Regions from separate parts of the Homo sapiens genome. Here region 1 is linked to region 2. Evidence: promoter capture Hi-C in human tissues and cell types (Jung and others, 2019). All regions are on one chromosome and are shown on one strand. The core of a region is centred on a gene start or on the middle of the fragment in contact, and the rest is flanking DNA. Distances in the headings are between cores, read along the strand shown. Region 1 overlaps ARHGAP31 (Rho GTPase activating protein 31). Region 2 holds the start of PLA1A (phospholipase A1 member A).

What was found. The method cuts DNA at HindIII sites, captures the fragments that hold promoters and counts their contacts. A contact is called where the count stands out against the background at its distance.
Region 1: a contact is called between a fragment that was not itself captured here and the fragment with the promoter of PLA1A in region 2, in 1 of the 25 tissues and cell types used here (liver).

Annotation. Positions count from the first base shown.
Region 1 is chr3:119,333,057-119,335,756 of GRCh38, forward strand. All of the region lies in intron 1 of ARHGAP31 (Rho GTPase activating protein 31), which reads left to right. Among named protein-coding and RNA genes, the nearest start is that of ARHGAP31-AS1, 12 kb to the left of the region's middle. The HindIII fragment of the contact is 5,793 bases long and covers 1-2,700 here.
Region 2 is chr3:119,596,470-119,599,169 of GRCh38, forward strand. PLA1A (phospholipase A1 member A) reads left to right here and starts at 1,416. Exons shown (of 11, transcript NM_015900.4): 1 at 1,416-1,517. The coding sequence starts at 1,445. RefSeq lists an enhancer at 2,095-2,284. The HindIII fragment of the contact is 21,246 bases long and covers 1-2,700 here.

The sequences.
Region 1 (2,700 bases), core at 27-2,526, 260 kb before region 2:
CAGGCTCATCAGATCCCAGAGCCCATGCGTCATCTATCGCATTTTGCTGCCCTCATCAAAGGTGCTATTTGTTCCATATGTTGGAAATACTGGACCCAAACAGCCCAACCCAGCATTCTGGGTTGAACCAGGCATGTTTGTTGGAAAGAAATATTGCTCTTTCTTCAAAAAGGGACTCTGAATTTTCATTAATATTAATTTTCCACTATGAACCTATTATCTGTGTATGTATCCTAACTTTTTGAGAAGATATTTATGTTTTCTAACTGTTGTACATTTCTGGAAGGAGCCAAGGTTAGCAGCTCCCACTAGCATATTACTCACTGTGTAAAGGAGCATTTCTTTAGTATCTGAAGTTGTTCTGATTTTGCTGTAGTACTAGAATTTGTTCATTACGTTTACTCCAGCTATATTCTTTTTAAAAGTATTTCGTCTTTTCTGAGCTTTTTTCTTAATACATGTGATAAATGTTTATTTTAGAAAGTCCTACTTTATTATCATATTAGAGAGATGTCTAGCTTAGATTTGTGTAGCACTCTGCAGCCTTTGTAATCCGTGCCTCCCCACACTTTTCCTTCCCAACACTTATTACCTCCATTGACAGGTGAGCTCAGGGAGGTGAAGTGACTTACCTAAAAATTCAGAGTCAGGAAGAGGCAGAACAGAAGCAGGATAGAACCTAGTTCCGACTCTCACCGTTTTATTCCTTTCTTTTCACCATGCTGCCTCTTGGTTCTTCGGGCTTTCAATTATTACACCTCATTATGAGAAGTGTTTTATGACTGCTACTTTGTGAGAAGTTAAGTACTGAAGTAAAATTGAAATAAGCTGCCAATCCTGCTCATTAAATGTGGTGGGAGGTTTAAATGACATTGCCTGCTTTATGTTTGGTCTTTGTTATCACCAACAGTCTCAGAGTCACTTATCAACCCTGGCACATGTGCACAGCATCTTGGAGAAGGATATGACCCAGATGTGCCCTAGACAGTGCCTCAACTCCTTTAAAGACAAAGAAGAGTGGAATATAGGCTCCTGGAGGGGGACTGATGCCCAGGGACCCCCTTCCCCCAGGCACAGTGAGACCTCTTGCCCTTCCAGCACCTTGCTGACTTCCCTTAGTGGTGTCCCTGATACTTCATCTCCCGGCTCCCCCTCATCTCCTGTTTGGCTTGCCGTCTTGGCCCCCACTCCAGCCCCCACCCTGTCCTTTTGGCCTGGCTCCTTGGCAGGGCTCCTGTCGGACCAGACACTTGCGTGACTGCTGGTGCCTTTGGCTGGGCTCCCTTATCCCTGAAGCCTCTCTTCCTGGCTTCAGACCCTCACTGAGAACCCAGCTGCTGCTTCTGGAAACATCCAAATAGTAGCTCTCAGCTCCCTGGTGAGATGCTCTTGACAAAGGCCAAATTTCCCTGTGATTAGGGAGCTTCAGCCTTGGGGCTTTGTGGTCCCCTCGAAGTCATGCCTTCTGGGCCCATCTTCAGGTAGGGTGACCCATATAACTTATCATCCAAGTTGGGGCACCTTAAGAGTAGAAGGGAGTGCTGTTAATAATTTCATCTGCATGATAGGAATAAACAAGGACCATCCCTGGCCAGCAGGGATATGTTCCAGGTTGTAGTCAACCTGACTCTCCCATTGAACAACGAAGTCCACGTTTATTGGAGGCTGACTCTGCACCAAGCACTGCACTAAGCACTTTACAAGCGTGCATTATTCATTTAATTCTTACAATAATCCTATATGTGTAATGTTGCCCTTATTTTACAAAGGAAGAAACTGAGGCCCAGAGAAGTTAAGTAATTTGCTTGAGGTCACATCAATTAAGTGGTAGGCCCTAGTCTGACTCTAAAGCCTTTACTTTTCAATCCTCCTTTTGGGTCCTGACCAGTAAGATAAAGGAATCAATAGAAATGAAACCCTTCAGTAGGAAGACAATGGAGATAGTCTCCAAATTAAAAATGAGTTATGCTGTAGAAGAACACTTGTATGTTGATTGCTCAGAATTTGAAATTCATTTTCCCATGGGAAAAAAAAAAGATCTAAAATGGTGGTTAGGCTCTAAGCCCAGCCAACAAAAGTCTATGCAGACTATAATTTCACTGTGGCCTACTCCTCTATGTAATACTGAACTGGCATGGGAAGCAGAAGCCATAGATTTCTATCGTAGTTCTTTCACATACTGGCTATGTGACTTGAGACAAATTATTTAATCTCTCTGAGCCTCAGTCTTATCAAAATTGAGATAATGTCTAGCTTCTAAAAAGTGCAAGAATCACAGGAGATAATGTACATAAAGTCTTTTTAAAAATAGCACTTATCACATTGTAGGAACTGACCACCATTTATGACATTGCCAGGACGCAAGCCAAGTTTTGGAGAACCCTAACCCCGGTCCTCAAAGTGGAGACACTTTGAGGAGCCCCTAGGCCAGGGCAGGCCAGGGGATGTCTGTGGAAATGCGTTCTCCTTGGTGAAACCAGTGGCGCTGTGAGAAACATAGGAAGAGAATGGTATTGGGGAGGAGAACACAGGCTTCCACAGGGATTTGGGGCCCAGTTAGGCGAAGAGGAGTATGTGGCAGCCACACAGCAGTGGGGGTCTGCACTCTGAGGAGGAGGGGCATTGGTCTGTGGCTGCAAGGTAAGATAGCCTTGGGGGCAGTGTCTCCACAGCTGTCAGGAGTTGTTCTGGTTTTGGGGT
Region 2 (2,700 bases), core at 166-2,665:
TCTTGCATATCTTGTCTTACCTTGGCATCTTCTTCTCCGAGGACCTGAACTCATACACTTGGCTTGGTCTCTAATATCAAGACAGCTTTCAGTAGTGACCTCTGCTGTGCACTACTTATTGCCACACCCCTTCCTGGTTGCAGCAGCACTTGAGCAGTGAGATCATGTGCACAAGGGGATGTAAGGGCTAGCCCCTCCAAAATAATTGTATCCTGCGTTCAGCCATGATGACATGGTCCCAGAGCCTCTTCAGGAGTTGTTGCTGTAGAGTATCGTTGCTCAGAGCATGGATTCTGGGGCTGGCTCATCCCGCTTTAAATCCCAGCTCTGCATGACCTCAGGCAAATGACTTAAATTCTCTGTGCCCTACCAGCTGTGTAAAACACAAATGTTTGTATTTAATACAAATTACTTCTATCACAGAGAAGTAATTTGTACTTATCTGTGCTTACTAACTGTGTAATTGTCACAGTTAAGTAATTTGTATACAATTATAATACAAATAAGTAATTTGTTGTACAAATTACTTAACTTCTCTGTGATAATACTCACCTCAGAGAGTTATTGTTTGGAAAAGATGATCCTGGCCCTGCCAGTGGGCTGTCTACCTCACAGCAATGTGTTATGATTTAGGGAGTGGGGGGCAAGTGCCCTGCCCTCTGCCTCTGCCCCATTGACTTGCCTAGAAATAGCTCTTTGTGGTTTCTGCCACTCTTTGGGGTGGAGAGGCCATATGGTGCTGGAACCATCTTGGTTCCAGGCCCGGCTCTGCCACTTCCACCAACGGGATCTCTACAGGTCATTTTCTTTTTCTAATATGCAGTTTCTTTGTGAATTCAGGAAGTTGAACATCTCCAAAGTTGGACTTGACTCCTAGCCCCAAGATTCTACAAAATGATAGTACTCTCCAGAGGAAACTTTTTCTTCCCTTCTTCCCTTTAAATGGACACTTAATATATAGTATTATCTCAGTCTTGTGCTAGGCACTGGGTATTCAAAAATGAAAAGAGAAAGCCTTTGCTCTCAAGTCACTCAGAATCTTCTAGGGAGACACACATGTCCACAGATAATTCCAACACAATGAGGGGTTTCTGGCCACCCAGAGATGCAGGACTTCTGCCTTGGTTATTACTAACATCCTATCACGGGAAGTGGGAGAGGTGCAGGAAATAGTTTCCTGATCATGTTTGGCTCAAAGAGGGACAGTGTGTTTCAATGCACTCTGGTTAACAAAAAAGAAAGTGTATTTATTTTCATTGAGAAGAAGAAACCGAAAACTCTGGCATTTAAATAAATAAAGAAGAATTTATTTTTCCTTTTCAGGTCATGAGGCTAGTTAATGATTAGTGAAATCCACGTGGGTGTTTTCTGAGAGGCTGGGTTATATGATCTCTTTGGCTTTAGGGAATTACTCCATACCAGCTCTGAGATTTCCAGCTCAGCGATGCCCCCAGGTCCCTGGGAGAGCTGCTTCTGGGTGGGGGGCCTCATTTTGTGGCTCAGCGTTGGAAGTTCAGGTAAGCCAGGGCTCAGGCCTTGGGAGGAACTTATTTCAGTCAGTGATCATATTTCTCCAACTACTTATGCAGTACTAACTTTTGGAAGATCCCCTAAAAGCCTTTTGCCTCTTCTGAGGTGAATTTAAAACAGTAGGGGAAAAAAACCCCTTTTATCATAATCGGAATGATGGTAAACAGGTCACAAAACCTGAACTTTCCCTGGTTATCCGACTCATTTTTCTAAAGCCCACATAAAAAAACCCTTTCTCACCTTGCACAAGCCAGGACCAACTGTAAGAAAATAAAATTTGGTTAATTCTAAGATATTCATTTTTCACCCCATAAATATCCACCATTCCAAGATATATTTAATTTTAAAATTTAGGTTTTCCAAACTAATAATGATTTTGTCACTGAGATTGTTAGATGTCCTTTCTAATCCAGCAACCTAACTCAAGTGGTTTGTCATCCTGGCTGGGTGATGGGAACTAGTCCCTGCTAACCTCAGATGCCCCTGGGAAAACTTCCCTCAGATGCCAATTTGCATTTACCTTTCCCCCAGTAAAGAACTGACCCACTGATCCCTCTTGCCTAACAGAAAATTAACCTGCTCTACTTTGGGTTCTCAGAAGTTCTCAGAAGACTCCTTCTCACTATGGTGAGGTCACCCTTAGAAAAATCCCCTCCCTCTACTCACAATAGCAGGCTGCTTTTCTGTCTTCTCCGCTGGACATTTAATTCTCATTCCCTGGCTCTAGAATATGTCATTGCTTCTGCCTGGGGTTGCTCACATCACCTTTGGATTGATTTCTGTTCTTTGCATCTTTCAAGGGGGCTTCTGTATTCCTATCTCCCTTGTACTCATTCTTTTTCTGCTCAGCACCCCTCCCTGCTACAAAGTTCCACTGGGTGACTGCATGCTCTCCTTGCACTCATGGGTGGTTTTTCAGAGGTGCTGTTGAGCTCTGTATGTGCTTTCTCCTACCTCAATTAGTTGTCCCTAAAAGGTGAGGATTTGAGGCTTCTGTCTCTTTTAGCATAGTTAGTGCTGTGCTCTGTATAGAGCAGATGTCCAGTGAATATTGCAGACATTGATGCTTAGAGGAGGCAATGGGCTGAGCTGATGGGGAATAGGCTCTGTCTGGGTCGGGCTAACCCAGACTGGAATCCTGGCTCTGTTTCTTTGTAGCTATGTGACCTT